Regions from separate parts of the Homo sapiens genome. Here regions 2, 3, 4 and 5 are each linked to region 1. The links are contacts of gene promoters, found by promoter capture Hi-C in blood cells and fetal thymus (Javierre and others, 2016). All regions are on one chromosome and are shown on one strand. The core of a region is centred on a gene start or on the middle of the fragment in contact, and the rest is flanking DNA. Distances in the headings are between cores, read along the strand shown. Region 1 holds the start of ACAP2 (ArfGAP with coiled-coil, ankyrin repeat and PH domains 2). Region 2 overlaps ATP13A3 (ATPase 13A3). Region 3 has its middle 5.0 kb from the start of TMEM44-AS1. Region 4 overlaps LSG1 (large 60S subunit nuclear export GTPase 1). Region 5 has its middle 6.1 kb from the start of FAM43A.

The links. The method cuts DNA at HindIII sites, captures the fragments that hold promoters and counts their contacts. A CHiCAGO score of 5 or more calls a contact.
Region 2: a fragment that was not itself captured here is called in contact with the fragment with the promoter of ACAP2 in region 1 in 1 of 17 cell types (neutrophils); the score reaches 5.1 in neutrophils.
Region 3: a contact is called between a fragment that was not itself captured here and the fragment with the promoter of ACAP2 in region 1, in 1 of 17 cell types (neutrophils). The highest score is 5.8, in neutrophils.
Region 4: a fragment that was not itself captured here is called in contact with the fragment with the promoter of ACAP2 in region 1 in 1 of 17 cell types (naive CD8 T cells); the score reaches 6.9 in naive CD8 T cells.
Region 5: a contact is called between a fragment that was not itself captured here and the fragment with the promoter of ACAP2 in region 1, in 2 of 17 cell types (non-activated CD4 T cells and neutrophils). The highest score is 6.8, in non-activated CD4 T cells.

What each region holds. Positions count from the first base shown.
Region 1 is chr3:195,441,276-195,445,086 of GRCh38, reverse strand. It overlaps ACAP2 (ArfGAP with coiled-coil, ankyrin repeat and PH domains 2), which reads left to right and starts at 2,067. Exons shown (of 23, transcript NM_012287.6): 1 at 2,067-2,292. The coding sequence starts at 2,240. RefSeq lists silencers at 1,703-2,202, 2,323-2,542, 2,563-2,612 and enhancers at 2,024-2,523, 3,063-3,152. The HindIII fragment of the contact is 4,201 bases long and covers 1-3,399 here.
Region 2 is chr3:194,479,613-194,483,423 of GRCh38, reverse strand. All of the region lies in intron 2 of ATP13A3 (ATPase 13A3), which reads left to right. Among named protein-coding and RNA genes, the nearest start is that of ATP13A3, 5.5 kb to the left of the region's middle. The HindIII fragment of the contact is 8,673 bases long and covers 1-3,811 here.
Region 3 is chr3:194,577,342-194,581,152 of GRCh38, reverse strand. No RefSeq gene overlaps it. Among named protein-coding and RNA genes, the nearest start is that of TMEM44-AS1, 5.0 kb to the left of the region's middle. The HindIII fragment of the contact is 7,555 bases long and covers 1-3,811 here.
Region 4 is chr3:194,648,897-194,652,707 of GRCh38, reverse strand. It overlaps LSG1 (large 60S subunit nuclear export GTPase 1), which reads left to right. Exons shown (of 14, transcript NM_018385.3): 9 at 1,492-1,593; 10 at 1,684-1,827. Among named protein-coding and RNA genes, the nearest start is that of TMEM44, 17 kb to the right of the region's middle. The HindIII fragment of the contact is 3,313 bases long and covers 905-3,811 here.
Region 5 is chr3:194,690,032-194,693,842 of GRCh38, reverse strand. No RefSeq gene overlaps it. Among named protein-coding and RNA genes, the nearest start is that of FAM43A, 6.1 kb to the right of the region's middle. The HindIII fragment of the contact is 8,231 bases long and covers 1-3,811 here.

The DNA of each region.
Region 1 (3,811 bases), core at 818-3,317:
ATTGAAGTTACAATGTTAGGGAAGGTTGGCCTGACCACTAATGTGCTTGAGGACCCTGAACATTTAACAGTCAATAGTCTGTTTTTAGCTATCAAGAAAAGCTGTGTGGTTTCCAGGAATACACAATTAAAAAAGAAATCAAGTTTATAAGCAAAGAATAAATGAATATAATGCTTCTATATTCTCTGAAATGCCTCAGAATTATACTGTTAATTTTCCTTTTTCCTTTTTTTTTCTTTTGATACAGTGTTTTGCTCTGTCTACCCAGGCTGGAGTGCAGTGGCACAATCATGGCTCACTGCAGTCTTGACTTCCTAGGCTTAAGTGACCCTTCCACCTCAGCCTCATGAGTAACTGGGACTATAGGCATGTGCCTGGCTAATTTTTTGTATATTTTTGTAGAGTTGTAGAGACAGGATTTCACCATGTTGCCCAGGCTGGTCTGGAACTCCTGGAGCAAGGAATCTGCTCACCTCGGCCTCCCAAAGTGCTGGGATTACAGGTGTGAGCCACCATGCCCTGTCTATACTGTTAATTTCTAAAGATGCTAAAGAGATCAAGATATCTCTTGATGGGTTACGAAAAACAGTATGTCATCACGCTATACTTAGCCAGACGGTCAGAAAGTTATATTAAGACTTTAGAAGGCTGGGTGTGTGGCTCACACCTGTAATCTCAGCATTTTGGGAGGCTGAGACAGAAGGATCACTTGAGGCCATGAGTTTGAGACCAGCCTGGGGAACGGAACGAAATTGTTTGATTGTTTTTGAGACAAACAAAAACTTCAGACAGTGAAAGTGAGAGAACTTAGACTTAAGCCCTTTGATTATAGTACTGAAGAGGCAAATGGTACAATTAAAATAGCCAACATTTACTGAATGATCGATATGTGGCACTGTGTTAACCGGACAACTTCATCAGATCTGTGTGTTATGTTCATTTTAAAGTGAGAAAGCTGGGACCTAAATCCAGGAAGTTTGCCTCCAGATTCTCACTCAGAGCCACTATGCTGTTAGAACACCCTGTATATTCATTTTTATAGATACGCCCGTGTTTTTTAGGTTGGCTTAAAAATTACTCATTACATATAAGACATCTTTGTACTTTTTACAATCAATGGCATCTTAAAATGAAGGAGTATGGTAAATACCTGCCGTGAGGATCAGATGATAAGTATCTTAAAGTGCTTCTAGAAAAAGTGTGGATTAGAGGGGCAGGTGTTGCAAGGTGAGTACGATGAGCCTGGTCTTCAGAACCCCACCATGGCAGAACAGTGAAAACCACCAGGAGCAAAGTGTCAGTGAGGGGGAATGCTTTCGGCAGTTTTGAGAGGAGTTCCTCCACACGAAGCACCCTACCTCCCATACCTGCCTAAATCTTTCTATGTCCAACCCAAACGGCAGCTCCTTCAGGAAGTGGTCTCTGGCTATATGAGAAGATGTACATGGGAGCAATTTCCAGATTATGAAGCTATGGAACAAATACATGAAAGATGGATTTTATCACTAAAGTTATCCTCGCTCCTCTTCTGGCCTCAGTTTCTCTAAACTGAAAGGAATAGGTGGCTTAGCCTATCTCTTCCTTTTATAATTTCTGCCTCTAACCTCTTCAGATTTCTGCCAATCTGCTTTGAAAAGCAAATTTCCTTCCTCAGACCTGCAGGAGACTGCTCCTCTGGGCTGGCAGCTCAGCAGGGCGGGGCTCGGGGAGCAGGAGAAGAGGCGGGGGCTCGGAGGGAAGCGCGGCCGCAGCCACGTGACTTCCTTCCCAAGGAACCTCAGCTGCCGGCCTCCCAGCAACCGGTGCGTCCCGCCTAGCGACGCCCGCGCATCCCGGTTGGCCCTCGGGGGCGGTTGTGGCAAGGAGGTGCCCACGGTCGCGCTGCTCATTGGCTCGGGTTGCCGTCGCTCAGACCCGTTGCCCGGGCGCCCGCAGGCGGTGCTGCCGGATGCCCCGCCCCTTGGCCGCCAGGTTCGTGGCTGGCTGGCCGCTGCTGTCACTCCCCGGCCGTTTCCCTGCGGCCAGCGCTCTACTTGGGGCGGGAGGAAGAGGGGCGGGACTGGGGCCTGACTAGTCGTCGCCGTCTTCGCGGCTGCTATGACCAGCGGGCGAGGCGCCCTTCGCAGCTCCGCGCAACGCTAGTCGCGGCCGTGCGCCCGCCGTAGCCGTCTGCGTCCCAGCGCGGCCGCTCCCGCGGCCCCCTCGGCTTTGCCAGCGCCGCCTGCGAGGCGGAGGCAGGATGAAGATGACTGTGGATTTCGAGGAGTGTCTGAAGGACTCGCCCCGCTTCAGGTAACCGGCACGGCCGCCCGGCGTCACCGCGGAGCTGCCTTCCCGGCGCTGGGGGCGTGAAAGCCGGGCCCGCGCACCCGGAGGAGGCCCCGCCGTCCGCTCCTTCCGACGGGGCGAGCGGCTGTTGCCGCCGTTTCCCACCCTGCGAGGGCACTGCAGTCCCCACCGAGCCCTCCCGAGGGGCGACGAAGTGGCGGGGACGGGGACGTCGCCTCTCATTTCTTTCCTTGCCCTCTGCCGGGGCGGAGCGCCCCGAAGGCCGGCGCACCCTCTCCCGCTGGGGGAAATGGGGTGCAGCCGCGCTCCCGAAGTCCCGTCCCCTTCGCGGGCGCTCGCTCTCGCCCCCTTCCTCCTCTGGCTGCTCTTCCTTCCCCCTTCCTTCCGCCCCTTCTTGGTTTCCACCCCCTCCCCACCCCCTCTTTGAGGGAGCTTTCAGGGCATCCTCTTGCAGTTCATTTAGTTCCTCTTTGCGCTTTTCTGCCCCCCTTCCCCGGGGAGGAGAGAGTAGGGGGCGAACTGGGACGCCGACTTCTGCTTCGCGGTGCCCCCGGCCAGAGCGACTCTCCGGAGGGCGCCCGCGGTGGATGCGTGCGGGAATCGCGGGGGGAAGCGCTGTGATCAACCGCATTCCGTGGACCCTAGTTGGTGACTACCTGCTTTTCTTTCCACTTAAGCTCGTTGAAGGGGGCACAGCTGTCGAGAGGTACCGGGCTGAGGGCGGAGGACTAGCAGAAAAGTGCATTTCTGTTTTGAGAACGGAAGTAGGAGGGCCGTGAAGATTGCCTGTGTGTTCCTCTTCCAGCAGCCTCTGCCCAGGAGGGCCCGGATCACAGTCGGATGCTCCCAGTGGATCTGTCACAGAGTTGACATGGGGGCACTCCGATTCACATGGGTTGCCCTTCTTTCTATGTGAGAGGCGGTCGTCCTGAGGCCGTCCAGGACACAGGTTCTTTCTGTTTTGAGGATAGTAGGAAAGTCTTGAGTTGTTTTGGACAATGGAGTTTTTCTAGGTTGCGTTTTACAGTGTATTTATTTACAGGGCTGGTCATAGTCCTTACAAATATAAGGCCTTAACACTTCCGTTAGATAGTGACATTTCTTGAAGCTTCCTCTGAGCACTGGCGTGTGTGTGCCCGCTAATGTCTGGGCCAAGCCTGGATTGTAAATTGCATCCTCTGCCTGGGAACTAACTGTTCTCATCCTTAACACTGTTAATTGGATTTCTTATTCTCCTTTCAGCGAAAAAGAAAAGAATTGTAAAACTAAGGAACTGCTACTTAGAGAAAATTTAAGAACGCTTTTTGCGTTTGCCCTTTGATGATTTTTGGGTATTAATTTTATTGGAGCCTAGGGCTATTATTTAAAAAAACCCACTTCCTTTGATAGCTGTTGTTGCGATTCATTTTTGAAACTTTTATGTTCTGCATTATTGAAGGACTCAAGAGACACAAATAGATTTCCTAGGACAGGCGTGCAGGTTGGTTTCCAGGACAGCATGGCAAGTGGAGTAATTTTTAAA
Region 2 (3,811 bases), core at 641-3,140, 960 kb after region 1:
GAGGTGGGTTTTCACCGTGTTGCCCAGGCTGGTCTCAAACTCCTGAACTGAAGCAGTCTGCCTGCCTTGGCCTCCCAAAGTGTTAGGGTTACAGGCATTTATCACTGCACCCCGTCCTTTTTTCTTTTTTTTTCCCCCCAGAGAAAGAGTCTCGCTCTCTCACTCAGGCTAGAGTGTAGTGGCACGATCATGGCTCACTGCAGCCTTGAGTTCCTGGGCTCAGGCGACCTTCCTGCCTCAGCAACAAGGGTAGTTGGGACAACGGGTGTGTGCCATCATGTCTGGCTAATTTAAAAAAAAATTTTTTTTTTTTTTTTGAGACGGAGTCTTGTACTGTCATCCTGGCTGGAGTGCAGAGGCGCGATCTCCGCTCACTGCAACTTCCGCCTCCTGGGTTCAAGCGATTCTCCTGCCTCAGCTTTCCGAGTAGCTGGGATTACAGGTGCCCACCACCATGCCTGGCTAATTTTTTGTATCTTTAGTAGAGACTGGGTTTCACCATGTTGACCAGTCTGATCTTGAACTCCTGACCTTGTGATCCGCCTGCCTCGGCCTTCCAGACTGCTGGGATTACAGGCGTGAGCCACCACGCCCGGCCTTTAAAATTTTTTTGTAGAGATGAGTATCTCGGTTTGTTGCCCAGGCTTGTCTCAGAACTCCTGGCCTCAAGTGATCCTCCTGCCTCAGCCTCCCAAAGTGTAGGAATTACAGACATGAGCCACCTTGCCCAGCCAAAACCATGTTCTAATTAACCACTTAAGTTCAAATAGCATGCAAGAAGCAAGGAAATTGTTAGGTTCTCGTTTGAGTTTTGTTGAACATCATATTTTGAGAGTAGAGAAGTAAGAGAGGCTCAGATTTCTGGCACATAATTTTAATTAAGATTTAGGTTTAAAAAAATGAAAAAGTTCTGGGCTCAAATTAATCTGGAGAAAAGTAGATATTTGTAAGGTAGAAGAAGGTCCACAGTTAATCAGTTATCACTAGATAACTAGTGATTATAAAAGGAGTTAAAACGATTTGTGTTAGTAGGTTATGCACAGTGACTCATGCTTGAAATCCCAGTGCTTTGGGAGGCCAAGGCAGGAGGATGGCTTGAGGCCAGGAGTTTGAGACCAGCCTGAGTGACAAAGCAAGACTTTGTCTTAAAACAACCAAAAATAATTTGTATTAATCAGGTTAAAAATAGAGGTAAAATGAGATGACATGAGTAAATGGTAATTGGAAAAAATGATCACTGTTATGATAGTTTAAAAAATGACTTTATGGTAATCAGTAAGAAGGGAGAAAAACGGAATAAAGGAGAGAACTGTCCAAATAAGTGTCTGACACTGAGGAAGGTTGTTTGAGGATGGTGATTGCTGAAAAGTTTCCATAAAATGATTCTCTAGAGGGAACTATGCCAATACCATATCTGTTAACATCTTAGACCCACAGGGTCATATTGGAACCTTTGCTAGAGTCTGAGATGGTAAAACATTAACTCGAATAGTAAACGTCAAGACCGCAAAATTAATCTGTTAATCAGAATTTTGTCTTTTTTGTTGATTCTTACACTTACTCCCTGTGGATCTTGGTTTTAAATGATCAATTGACACTCAGAGACTAGTTAGATAAGAAATTAAATTTCCAGAAAAAGTCACTTAAGTATGTAAAGTAGAATTTCCTAATTATGTGGTCTGGAAATTGCTGATGTCTACAGAATCTTTCTCAAGTTTGAAGTAAAAATACTTGTAACTGATGTTGGGTGGTAAGGTGAAAGATGGTTCTAGCTCAGTGAGTTTTTCTTATTTTTTTTTCACAAAGGAGTTGAACATTGAAATAAAGAGGTGTGAGACTGGAAAATAATGCGGAGAGATCATGGATTATTTAGATTAGTGCCTTTTTAGAGAAGAGGAAAGTGAAGTAAGTGACAGCATAAAGGATCCTTTATGGTCTAACCCCAGATCCTTTCTCTAGCTTGGGTGTTCCTTTCACCCTTGCTTTAATTTTGTACTCTGTAGTAATGGCACATCTCAAAACTTTTGCATTTTTTTTTTCCAGTGAGAGCCAACTTTTAAGGGTTGCCTTTGCTTGCTTGACAGACTTCTTGAAACAAACTATTTTTAGTTTGTTTAAAATGAGTCATGGAATTGCTCCCACATATGTGTCTAAGGGTGGTTTCTTCATAGCATCCCTGTTGCTCTGTTTTTTTTTTTTTCCATTTGTGAAATAGGATGAAATATATTTTAGTTATTTATTTTGATATAAAAGACAAGTGTTTTGGGTCCTGATTTTTTTCTGATTGATCTAAAGAGCTGAATAAAGTGCAATCACTGCTCATGGGGCCTTTGGGCCTAAATTCTCAGATAAAAATCCTGTGTAGTCAAAATTACCCTTGGAAAAAGTCTTTTAAAAAGGCACCAGTTTGAAAACTGGTTGGAAACTGACATTCTGTCTTTCAATTCTAGTGTCCAGTTTTTCCTGTAGTTTTAGAGAGGTCCCTTTTTTGGTGAGCTGGAATCCTCACCAGCTGTGTGAGACCGTTTTGACAGGTGAATGGGTCTTAGATTGACTGAGCATAGCGGATTTATAGTCTTCATTTCATGCTCACTCTGGGACAGGGATGTAAAGGAAGGCATACTATCATCATTATTCAAATTATTTTTCTCTGTTGCTTCCCCCCAGAGTGTAAGTAGTTGAATTGGTTTTAATTAAGTGCATATATGATGTGACTCCACAGTGTGAATAATGGAGAAATAACTTAGGTATTTATGAACATCTGCTATCTCCGTAAGGTTATGCCACAAAAAGATCTAGTATAATTAAAAGGCTAGGTAATAAAGTTGAGAATATTAGGAGATTATTGGTACTGTCTGTCATTCTGAGGGGATACTCAACTACTTTGAGTGTTTTTGTTTTGTTTTTTTAAAGAATAAATTTATTCCTTACTGCTAGCAAGATCTGCATTGTTTTAAAAGAGCGATGTAAATTATTAATGGATTCCATGAAATTTAAAGTATCTAAACTTAAGTATTACTCTGGGGATAGCACAGTAAGAAAACATGAGTATGTAAAAACATGATGGTGGCTAAAAACTTAACAGTCTTATGTCCTGGGAGAGGGCATGGTGTATTGGATAAAAATGTGGGCTTCAGAGCCATAGTGATTTTGAATTACAGCTCTGTCACATACCAGTCTTGTAGTCTGGGTTAAGTAAGTCACTGAACCTCTGAGAGCTTTTTTATTTGCCAGATAGAGGTGATAAAGGGTACCTTAGAGAATTGTAAGGATAAGAGTCTGAGTGAAGGGTAACTTATTATTTGTTAACTTAGTAACATTGAAGATATTCAAAACAAGTCAGATGTGTGTGTGGGGTGTGATTGATGATTGCTCTTTGTTTTTTTGTTAACTGGAACAGCAGGCAATAATGTTATATTCAGGCTTTTTATGTCCAAAACAATCTATGATTTTGTATCTTTAGTAGCAACATCCTCAAAAGCTCAAGATGTTAACCTCATGTATCTCCGATATACATTTTATGTATATTTTAGTTTTTCTCTTTGTGTCTCTGGTGTGTTTGCAGTCTGTTTTCTCTCCCATCTTGTTACTGTTACCCAATGTCTCTGTCTCTGACCACCTTATAAAATTTAAAACTATCTGTAATTGTATTTATTTTATAGGACTTTATATGCATTATTTTCATTTAAAAATTCTGATTAGTCAAATATTTCTACTTTTTTTTTAAAGAAGACTTTGAATTATATTTCAATTTTGTGACCTTTAGATTTCTTTAAACATGGAATCCTAGTCACTGGTTCCTTATAGACCG
Region 3 (3,811 bases), core at 1,312-3,811, 860 kb after region 1:
AGAAAAATTTTGATAGATCAGAAAAGTCTTAGAAGTCATTAGATTCTGTTGTAAAAAGATTATGTGGATTTTTGTAGTAGATGTTTCTTGACTGTGGAAATACTTAAATACATCTTAAGAGAACTGTTCTAGTTTAAAGGAGTCTGCAGTGGGGATGGGGTGGGAGAGCTATATGGGATTACTGGGACAATTGAGCAAATTTGAATATGTACAGTGTATTAGCTAACTTTATTGTTTCCTTTCTTAATAATATTATGGTTGCACAGGAGAACGCCCCTTTGGATATACATGCTGAACTACTTAGGAGTGAAGCACCGTGATTTGGCAACTGACTTTTATTTTTTATTTTTTATTTTTATTTTTTGAGACAGAGTCTCGCTCTCTCGCCCAGGCTGGAGTGCAGTGGCATGATCTCGGCTTACTGCAAGCTCCGCCTCCCGGGTTCACACCATTCTCCTGCCTCAGCCTCCTGAGTAGCTGGGACTACAGGCGCCTGCCACCATGCCTGGCTAATTTTTTTTTGTATTTTTAGTAGAGACGGGGTTTCACCATGGTCTCGATCTCCTGACCTCGTGATCCTCCCGCCTTGGCCTCCCAAAGTGCTGGGATTACAGGTGTGAGCCACCGCACCTGGCCCCAAGCAACTGACTTTTAAATATTTCAGCAGAAAAAAATTATAAATTTTTCAGGTAGTTGGAGAGAGACAAAGCAAACGGAAAAACGGGAACAATGGATTAATCTAGGCGAATAGCATAAACATGTTCGTTATTCTTTCATCTTTTCTGTAGGTTGGAAGTTTTTCAAAGCCAGCTGGGTGAGAAAGAACAGGAGTAAAGAAAGATTCTCGCCAGGCGTGGCTCACGCCTGTAATCCCAGCACTTTGGGAGGCCGAGGCAGGTGGATCACCTGAGGTCAGGAGTTCGAGACCAGCCTCACCAACATGGAGAAACCCTGTTTCTACTAAAAATACAAAATTAGCCGGGTGTGGTGGCACCTGCCTGTAATCCCAGCTACTCAGGAGGCTGAGGCAGGAGAATTGCTTGGAGCCAGGAGGCGGAGGTTGCGGTGAGCTGAGATGGCGCCATTGCACTCCAGCCTGGGCAACAAGAGCGAAACTCCATCTCAAAAACAAAAAAAGGCCGGGCACAGTGGCTCACGCCTATAATCCCTGCACTTTGGGAGGCTGAGGCGGGTGGATCACCTGAGGTCAGCAGTTCGAGACCAACCTGGCCAACGTGGTGAAACCCTGTCTACTAAAAATACAAAAATTAGCCAGGCGTGGTGGTGGGCACCTGTAATCCCAGCTACTCGGGAGGCTGAGGTAGGAGAATTTCTTGAACCCAGGAGTCAGAAGCTGCAGTGAGCTGAGATTGCACCACTGCACCCCAGCCTGGGCAACAGAGCGAGACTCCATCTCAAAAAAAAAAAAAAAAAAAAAAAGAAAGAGTCTCACAGTTGGCCCATCATGAGATGGGGTCTCCACGCATCTCCACCACTGTTGCCAGCAGAGGACCCTGAAATTCTAGGGCTTTGCAAGGAAAGAGCTGGTTATTAGAGACTGCTTTTCAAGCAGCTTCCCAAATGTGGCTGGATTCTGGGCCGACTAATTGTCGTGTGATGTCAGGCCACAAAGGGTGGATAAATTCCAGTTTGTCTGGTACTGAGAAAAAAATAGGCCCCATATCTTAGACAGCCCTGATAAGGTGCCTCCATGGATATGAGTAATGGTCAGACCCAGGGGATGACCCAGGACTAAGAAAGCTGGACAATGGAAAGTCTGGAGCACTGTGACAGGGAAATTCTTCCCCTGAATTGCCTTTTCCTATTGAGATAAGATAGTACACAATAAAGCGCCAGGCTCAGAAGTGCTGCTGCCAATCCCAGCCAGGGCAGCCAGCACTCGGCCCGAGCTGACGCACATCAGTGCCCGGGGCTGTCAGCACCTGTGTGGTCTCCAGAACGCCAGCTCTGATGGGGACCAGTCCTAACTCCCACCATTCACCAACTGTGGGACTCCTATTCTTGTTCATTAAAAAAAAAAGAAAAGAAAGAAAGAAAAAAAGTGTACTCCTCTTCTACCTGCTTTACTCTATGGTGCCTCCAAAAACTAGAAACCATGCCGGGCGTGGAGGCTCACGCCTGTGATCCCAGCACTTTGAGAGGGGCGGATCACCTGAGGTGATCAAGACCAGCATGGCCAACATGGTGAAACCCCGTTTCTACTAAAAATACAGAAATTAGCTGGGCATGGTGGTGGGTGCCTGTAATCCCAGCTACTCAGGAGGCTGAGGCAGGAGAATCACTTGAACCAGGGAGGTGGAGCTTGCAGTGAGCTGAGATCGTGCTATTACACTCCAGCCTGGGCAACAAGAGCAAAACTCCATCCAAAAAAAAAAAAACACACACACACACAGAAAAAAACTAAAAGCAAACCATGAAAGGGCCTTTCCACTCCCAAATGCTATAAAGGTATCAGTTATTATTATTACTTCCTTAGCATGAAGCAGTTAGTTTTGTAGATTCTCTCTCTTTTTTTTTCTTTAAGACACAGGGTCTGGCTATGTTGCCCAGCTGTTCTCAAACTCCTGGCTCAACGATCCTCCCACCTTAGCCAGCCTAGTAGGTGGGACTACAGGCACGTGCCACCCAGCCCAGCTAGCATCCCCTGTTTTAGGTCTAGTTCCATATTTCTTTAAAAGTCATCAGGATGTCTTTTAGGTCCTGAGTATATTTTTATTATGAGATTGTATAAGTAAAGACCTTTGAACTTCTGAGGAGGCAAGATTGAGACACCTTAGATGCTCCACTGTCTCCTGAGTGAGCAGAGTGGCAGAGGCTGTTACCCTTTTAATAGCACCTTAACCGGGAAGTAGACCCCTTGTAGGCAAGCAGTGACTCACCCACACTGTCACGAATGAGTCAGTGTCCCAGCCGAGCAGGGGCTGGCAGCCTCCTACTTCACGGGGTGGGAAGCAAGGCCTAGGCTCAGTCCTGGATATTGGTCTTGTCACGTTAGGGGTGGTAGCACAGAGCCCGCAGAGTGGAAAGGAGCTGATGCCTTTGGATTGGTCTTCAGGAGGAGAGGATTGAGCTAATGGGCATGTGATACAGAGAAAGACTGTAAGTTAGGGTAAAGGAGAGCTTTCATGTGGTCCTGTCTGAGCTGCAATGGTTGCACGGGCTCCGTGTTACTGGAGTAATTCCAACACAGCCTCAACCCACCTATAGAGATGTTTTGGGCCAGGCACGGTGCCTCACACCTGTAATCCCAGCACTTTGGGAGGCCAAGGTGGGTGGATCATTTCAGGCCAGGAGTTTGAGACCAGCCTGGCCAACATGGTGAAATCCCATCTCTACTAAAAATACAAAAATTAGTCGGGCATCATGACGCACACCTGTAATCCCAGCTAGTTGGGAGGCTGAGGCAGGAGAATCCATTGAACCCAGGAGGCGGAGGCTGCAGTGAGCCAAGTTGGCACCACTGCACTCTACCTGGGAGACAGAGCGAGACTCCATCTCAAAAATTAAAAGATGGTTTGGGGAAGATGTTACCATTGACCAGAGAGTTGGATCAGATGGCTTTCAAGACTTTTTCAATGTTAAAAGTCTGAGCTATGGGGCCAGCGTGGTGGCTTACGCCTGTAATCCCAGCACTTTGGGAGGCTGAGGCAGGCGGATGATGAGGTCAGGAGATCGAGAACATCCTGGCTAACACGGTGAAACCCTGTCTCTACTAAAAATACAAAAAAATTAGCTGGGTGTGGTGGTGGGCACCTGTAATCCCAGCTATTCGGGAGGCTGAGGCAGGAGA
Region 4 (3,811 bases), core at 1,312-3,811, 790 kb after region 1:
CATTGTTACCACGTGATTGTCTTTAATCCCCATTTTTCAGTAGCTGCACGACCCCAAAGACCAACCAGGCTTCCGGCATCGTAGGGAACATTGCCCTCTTGTTGCCCACTGGCATCACGGGATTAGGCAGTGGGATAGACAGAGCCCAACTCAAAGGAATCAACTTCCTCAAGGCCTGTGTTGGTAACATACCTATTCACATTGAATGTATTCTCCAGTCTCCTTTCAGTTCAGCTTTTCCTGCCGTGTGAAGTACCAAGACAGCAGAATGAGAGAGATGTTAATGTTGTCTTCAGACTTCAGCCCAGTGTTCTTTGGGCACCCTGTGATCCTTGCCAGCTTATGCTGTAAATGTTCCAGATGCTTAATAGGGAGAATCCCAGCATCTTGGGGCTGGACGAAATATGACAAATGCATTAGTTGCATAAACACTGCATAGTAGATAGGGGAAAGCAGATCCCATCCCCAGCCTTACATACCCTAATTCCAGAAGTGGCTGCGGAAGTGCGCAAACCCCGAGGGGCTACGACATGGCTCTAGATGGCCCCATCCTTAGCTAAGGAGATGTGAGATGTTAGAGAAGGTATTGATTATAAAGACCTATCCAGAATATAACAGTGAGGGAAAGGAGGTCATGGCATGTTTAAAGTCTCCCAGCTTTTCAGTTACATGCTAAGTGTAGCTAATCCTAGTTAGTTTTGAGCCCCCTTCTCTCTGCCCCAACCCCCTGCCCCAAAATGCCTGTTTAAAATGACTACAGTAGATTAGCATCTTATTTTAGTGCAGTAGTTAAAAGAGCTGTCTGTGGAATCAGACAGACCTAGGTGTAATTCCCAATTCAGCAGTAGAACTAACTTGTTAGGAACACGGGGAAAGTTGCTTAATGTCTCTGAGCTTTAAAGCTTCATTCTCTATATTGTTGCTAAAAATTTGTATCAGAAAGTTCAGCTTCTCTACAAGTTTTCTCACATTTATGGAAAAACTGAGCATCCTCCCTCATTTTCTGAATTTCTTACTCTAGAAATTCTGCAGACACTTATTGATCACCTGCCACATGCCAGACATTCCACTTGGCTTTAACTAAAACGTGACTGAAAATTAAAAATAATTGTGTGTTGTGATTATTCAAATGTCCATCCGATCAGCCTCACCCAGTGTGGAAGATGCGATGGAAACCACTGTCTGTAGATGGGGCAGTGAGGGAAGGCTGGGAACAAGGGGATGAAATTTTCTGTAGCATCTGCTGTTAACAGCAAAACATATAATATTAAAATGTGCATAACTTGGCCATTTGTCACTGGAGATGTGTCTGAATAAATATACCCACACCACAGGAGAAAAAAGATGTCTCAACAAACACAGCATGGATTTCAAATAATTTTCTAAAGTAACCAGATGCTTATGCTAGTCTTGCCACCATCTATGTCATATCTTTGAGTCTTTTGATAGATGTACTGTTTTACTGTTTGGTAACTTCTGAGTCTCTTCTAGGTGGGCTACCCTAATGTTGGTAAGAGTTCAACAATCAACACCATCATGGGCAACAAGAAAGTATCTGTGTCTGCCACACCTGGTCACACAAAGCACTTTCAGGTATTTCTGTGGTGCTTTGCCACTTGCATGCAGCTCTTTCTTCCTTTTATCTGTTGTATACCCAGCTCAAACCTCTTGCTTGTCTTCCAGACTCTCTATGTGGAGCCTGGCCTCTGCCTGTGTGACTGTCCTGGCTTGGTGATGCCATCTTTTGTGTCTACCAAGGCAGAAATGACTTGCAGCGGAATCCTCCCAATTGATCAGATGAGAGATCATGTTCCTCCTGTATCACTAATATCCTTTCTGCTTTGGAAACACTCTAGTTATTACGTGCATATTAGGGCTTCAGGTTTATTTTGGGCATTTGAGGGATTCAGATTTGATGAAGAATTGAAAATACTAGTGATCTGCACAAGTTTATACTGTGAGATAGCATGAGAACTTCAGAATAGAACCTCATTTCCTGATTTCAGCAGTGTAGCCTTGAAGAAATGGGAGAATCCAGGTTTCAGATACTCAGTTCCAAGTTGCAAACCTATTTAACAATGCCATGTAACCGTTTGAATGACCTTGGAAAACTTGCTTAACCTTCCCAAATACTTTCCTTTTCTCTAAGTGGGGGAAAATCTATCTCACGGTTGATTATATTTAATCAGTATAGCTAACATATATTGAATACTTGCTATGTGCTTTTCTAAACCCTTACCAAATACCTTTTAGTCCTCAAAAAGCAACGCTTAAGGCAGATACTGCTGTTATTCCCATTTCCTCAAACTTGAGGAAACTGAGGCACAGAGAAGTTAAATAATTTATCTAAGCTCTTATAGCTAGTAAGCAGTAAATTAGGAACTCTGCTACCTCTCAGCAGCATAATGAATTAACTTACATAAAGCATCTAGGACAGTGCCCAGCATGGAAAAAAGACTCAAAGATGGATTTGTTAAGAACTATGCAGGGGCCAGGTGTGGTGGTTCATGCCTGTAACCCCAACACTTTGGGAGGCTGTGGCAGGCGGATCACTTAAGGCCAGGTTTTGAGACCAGCCTGGCCAACATGGCGAAACCCTGTCTCTACTAAAAATACAAAAATTAGCTGGGCGTGGTGGTGCACACCTGTAGTCCCAGCTACTCGGGAGGCTGAGGCACGATAATCTCTTGAACCTGGGAGGCGGAGGTTGCAGTGAGCTGAGATGGTGCCACTGCCCTCCAGCCTGGGCCACAAAGCGAGACTCTTGCCTTTAAGAAAAAAGAAAATGAAAGAAAAAAAAAACTGCAAGGTCTGAGATTTTACTCTACTTATAAGCTAATAAGTTAGTCTATTATTGTTTTGTAGATACTAGCAGAAAATAGGAGACTTCATGAAATTGGCACACTAATCCGCTGGCTTGTAAGTAGAGTAAAATTCCCTTCATAACTACACTTAAGGCCACAGCTTATTCATAGATACATATATATGAAAAAGTGTATAGCTTTTTTTTTTGTTTTTGAGATGGAGTCTCGCTCTGTCACCCAGGCTGGAGTACAGTGGTGCAATCTCTGCTCACTGCAACCTCCACCTCCTGGGTTCAAGCAATTCTCCTGCCTCAGCCTCCCGAGTAGCTGGGATTAACAGGCATGTACCACCATGCCCAGTTAATTTTTTTTTTTTTTTTTTGGTAGAGATGGGGTTTCACCATGTTGGCCAGGCTGGTCTCAAACTCTTGACCTCAGATAATCTGCCTGCCTCGACCTCCCAAAATGCTGGGATTACAGGCGTGAGCCACCACGCCTGGCCTTTTAAGTTTCTCTGTAAATTAATAGTGAGACATGAATCATTTATTGCAGGTAGCCTTAGGTTAGGTGCTGTGGAGGATAGGGCATAAATAGAGATGGCTCCTGCCCTTTACGAAGCATCAGTCTGTTGGGGCACATGAGGCATGTACTTGAATAACTCTAGTACAAGGTAGAATATTGTTAGTGGCTTAAGGAAAATTTGGACAAACTATGGGAGATGAGACAAAGGAGGAAAAGTAATCCTGCCTAACTGTAGGCATTAGAAACAGAGACTCCCCTTGCTTTATCTCTAAATTAGAATCACAAATGCGTAATCTTTTCAGGGTAAAAATGTGTCATCTTTAAAGTCTGTTTCAGATATATTTTAAATTACTATTTTAAATGAATTCATATGGAAAAGTCGTGGGAGCTTAAGGCCTTGTTTAAAAGGGAAAAAACAACTGAGTCTTTTTAGATTAATCAAAAACTATCCTCTTCCTTTGGAGAGGAGAGAGTGTTTGTCACAC
Region 5 (3,811 bases), core at 907-3,406, 750 kb after region 1:
GAGACCAGCCTGGCCAACATAGCGAAACCTCGCCTCTACTAAAAATTTAAAAACATAGCTGGGCGTGGTGGTGTACGCCTCTAATCCCAGCTACTTGGAGGCTGACGCAGGAGAATCACTTGAACCCCAGAGGCAGAGGCTGCAGTGAGTGAAGATCATACCACTGCACTCTAGCCTGGGTGACAGAGAAAGACTCTGTCTCAAAAAAATAAAATAAAATAACTGGAGGCCTATTAAAAGCGCATCAGTCTAGGAGTTTGGACCCGTGGGTCTTGGTCCCTTAGCATGCCCTGGAGTTGCAGGATTGGTGCTGGCTGATGCCTCTGTGCTTGGTTTGCTTTTCCTTTAAAGCCTGGGCTATCTTTTCTTTCAGGCAATATAAGATATCAGCTAGGTTTGTGGAAAGGAGAAATTCAGATGGGGAGCTGTGCCATAGGGGAATGAGGTGTGAACTGGAGAAGGAGGAAGGGGTAGAGATGAAGAGGAGGGGAGAAGAGGAGGCCTTCAGAAATGTCACTCCCCATGGAGGGTTAGAAACAAGGTCCTTTTCTGGTACCACTGAGCAGCTCAAGAAAGAGGAAGGAAGGAGTGCCAAGTTCCAGGGCCATCTTCTCACCATTCAAACCACCAAGACGATGGTTAGTCAAGGCGCTCAAACTGGGTCACAAGAGCTTTAGAGCAAGCAGTGGGGGTTTGGTCTAGGGGACACTGGGCCTACGAACAGGGGTGAGCCAGAAGGAACAGAAACGGCCCCGGCTACTGGTCAAGCCAGATCCAGGTGTGGCCGCTGTAGTTTGGATATTTGTTCCCCCAAATCTCTTCTTGAAATTTGATCCCAGTGTTGGAGGTGGGGCCTAATGGGAGGTATTTGGGTCATGGAGGTGGATCCCTTATGAATAGGTTAATGCTCTCCCTGTGGGGAGACGGAGGCAATGAGTGATTTCTCTCTCACTCGAGAGCAGGTTGTCCAAAAGAGCCTGGCACTGCCCTTCTCCCTATCTCTTGCTTCCTTCCTCTTGCCATTTGATTCCTGCTCCAGTTCACCTCCCGCCATGAGTGCAAGCAGCCTGAGGCCTCACCAGAGCAGAAGCTGGCACCACACTTCTTGTACAGCCTGCAGAACCTTGAGCCAAATAAACCTCTTTCCTTTATAAATTACCCAGCCTTGCCAGGCATGGTGGCTCATGCCTGTAATCCCAGCACTTCGGGAGGCCAAGGCGGGTGGATCACTTGAGGTCAGGAGCTCAAGACCAGCCTGACCAACATGGTGAAACCCTGTTTCTACTAAAAAAAAAAAAAAGCACAAAATTAGCCGGGTGAGGTGGAGGGCACCTATATTCCCAGCTACTCGGGAGGCTGAGGCAGGAGAATCGCTTGAACCCGGGAGATGGAGGTTGTGGTGAGCCAAGGTCATGCTATTGCACTCTAGCCTGGGCAACAAGAGTGAAACTCTGTCTCAAAATAAATAAATCAATAAATATAAATAAATTACCCAGCCTCAGGTATTCTTTATAGCAACACGAAACGGACTAAGACAGTGGACATGTGCAACAAGCCTGGAGCAGAGAGTGCAGAGCGCCCTGGGCCTAGCACCCTCCTGGCTGCCTGGAGCCCTGAGTAGTTCCCCATGTGTCAGTCATGGCTCCTACCCCAGCAGTCCGTGCACATTTCTAGCTCTGTCATGCATCACTTAGCAGCAGATGCTGGGACTACTGATGCATACCACACAGAGGAAAGAGTTCTGCTTATTAAATTACTAAATCCTGTTTAAAAAGACGGCAACTTGCTCCTAATAGAATTTCTATGTTTCTCGTGATCCTTGGCAACTACAATGAGATTTTTAAATCTCCAGTATGGTGCCAGGGGTAGATTCTTCCAACCAGTTCTCTCTCTACTCACAAGCAGAACCCTCAAAAACAGCTCTGTCCCCTGGGAGGGAATTGTGCTTTCTTAGTATAACAGAGCCTTTCTAATTTGGTTAAAATCTGTTCTGCTGACTGTGGGGCAGTGAGAGGTGTTTCTTTAGGGAAACCATGTGTGTCCACACACGTGTGTGTGGAGGGGGTTCTCTGAAGCTGTCATAGTTGGGAGGGTATGAAATACTATTGTTTATTTTATGCCATTTTATTCCTCCCACCTTCCTGCTTACATATGCGACAAATGGTAGAAGTGAACATGGGATGTTTGTGCTGTGAGGAGTCGATGAATGCCTCCTCCCAGACTCACGCTGCCACCCCTGGAGGACCGCGTGCCGCCGGGAGTCACCCTGTTTTTCATGCAGTCGATGCTGCATTGTTGAACACGGAGGATTACCTAGGCTGGGAAAGAACGTGGAAAGTGTCTCAGTGCATTTAAAGTACCATCAGGTTAAGTCATGGAGAAACATGAGCCTCACTTTGCAGGAAAGAAAAGCTAAATTTGATGAGTAAACCAGACTTCAGGTGTTTTCTGGAAGGTGTATTTTATCTAATGACTTAGCTTTGCTTTTGTCGCTCCATTCTTTTCCCTCTGAGCTCCAGGAGCAAAGTAGTTTTAGGGTCTTTCTTTTATTTTCATTCAAAACATCTCTTCTTACTCTAGTGATATCATCCCTGGAAGACTGAGAAGTCAGAAGAGGTGAATCACGTGTCACCTTCACATCTCTTCTAGAATTACATCAGTCAGAGCTCTGAGGTGCAGTGGGGATCGATGCCAAAAAGCAGAGGGGAGGAAGGAGAGATGGGGAGGGCACAGACGGAGGAGGAAGGGAGCTGGCTCTTTCCAGCCTGCTTATTTTCTTCTTCCTCCTCCTCAACCTTCAAGCCCCCCTTCCTATTTATAAATCACATGAGAGGAAATATCAGACTTTAAAGAGATGGCTGCTTTATATTTATTGATGGTGTTGGTTTCAACACTATTTGCCTGAACTTTTGGACCAACCACCACATGCCTGTCAGTCACAGATGAAAGCCAACATTGGCATTCTCACAGGACACTTAAACTAGATAAGAATGAAGACACACAGACCCTGCCCTGTCTCCCAAGTATTAGCCATATTATCTTCACTCTGTCTCATCTCTTCATCAGTTTCAAACAGCAGAGGAACTTGGCTATGCATGGGAATAATTTCAAATGTGAAATCTAGTCACGCAGGCTAGTGATGGCCCACACAGCCGTCTGCTTATCAGGTGAGCACACTGGTGTGGAAGGGCTGGGATGGGTGGCTGGGCTGAGACTGGACTTTCCTGACCTCTCTCTAGCTGGGGTTTTTAATGTCATTCAATGATGTGTATCTGAGGTATTCAGGGAGAGGGATCGGGACGCACAACCAAGCCAAAATATAATAGATTCAAAGGCCTGGACGTCCTAAGGCCCTTAAGACTGAATTTTTTTTAAATGTTTTCCACTCAGCTGGGTACAGTGGCTCACGCCTGTAATGCCAGCACTTTGGTAGGCTAAGGTGGGCAGATCACCTGAGGTCGGGAGTTTGAAACCAGCCTGACCAACATGGAGAAACCCCATCTCTACTAAAAATACAAAATTAGCCCGGCGTGGTGGCGCATGCCTGTAATCCCAGCTACTTGGGAGGCTGAGGCAGGAGAATCGCTTGAACCCGGGAGGTGGAGGTTGCGGTGAGCTGAGATTGCACCATTGCACTCCAGCCTGGGTGACAAGAGTGAAACTCCGTCTCAAAAAAAAAAAAAAAATATATATATATATACACACACACACACACACACACACACACACACATATTTTCCACTCGCCCCCTTTGCTTTTCTTTTTTAAAGATAGTTCTATGCCTGAACCATTCCTGTTAATTAGGAAGAAA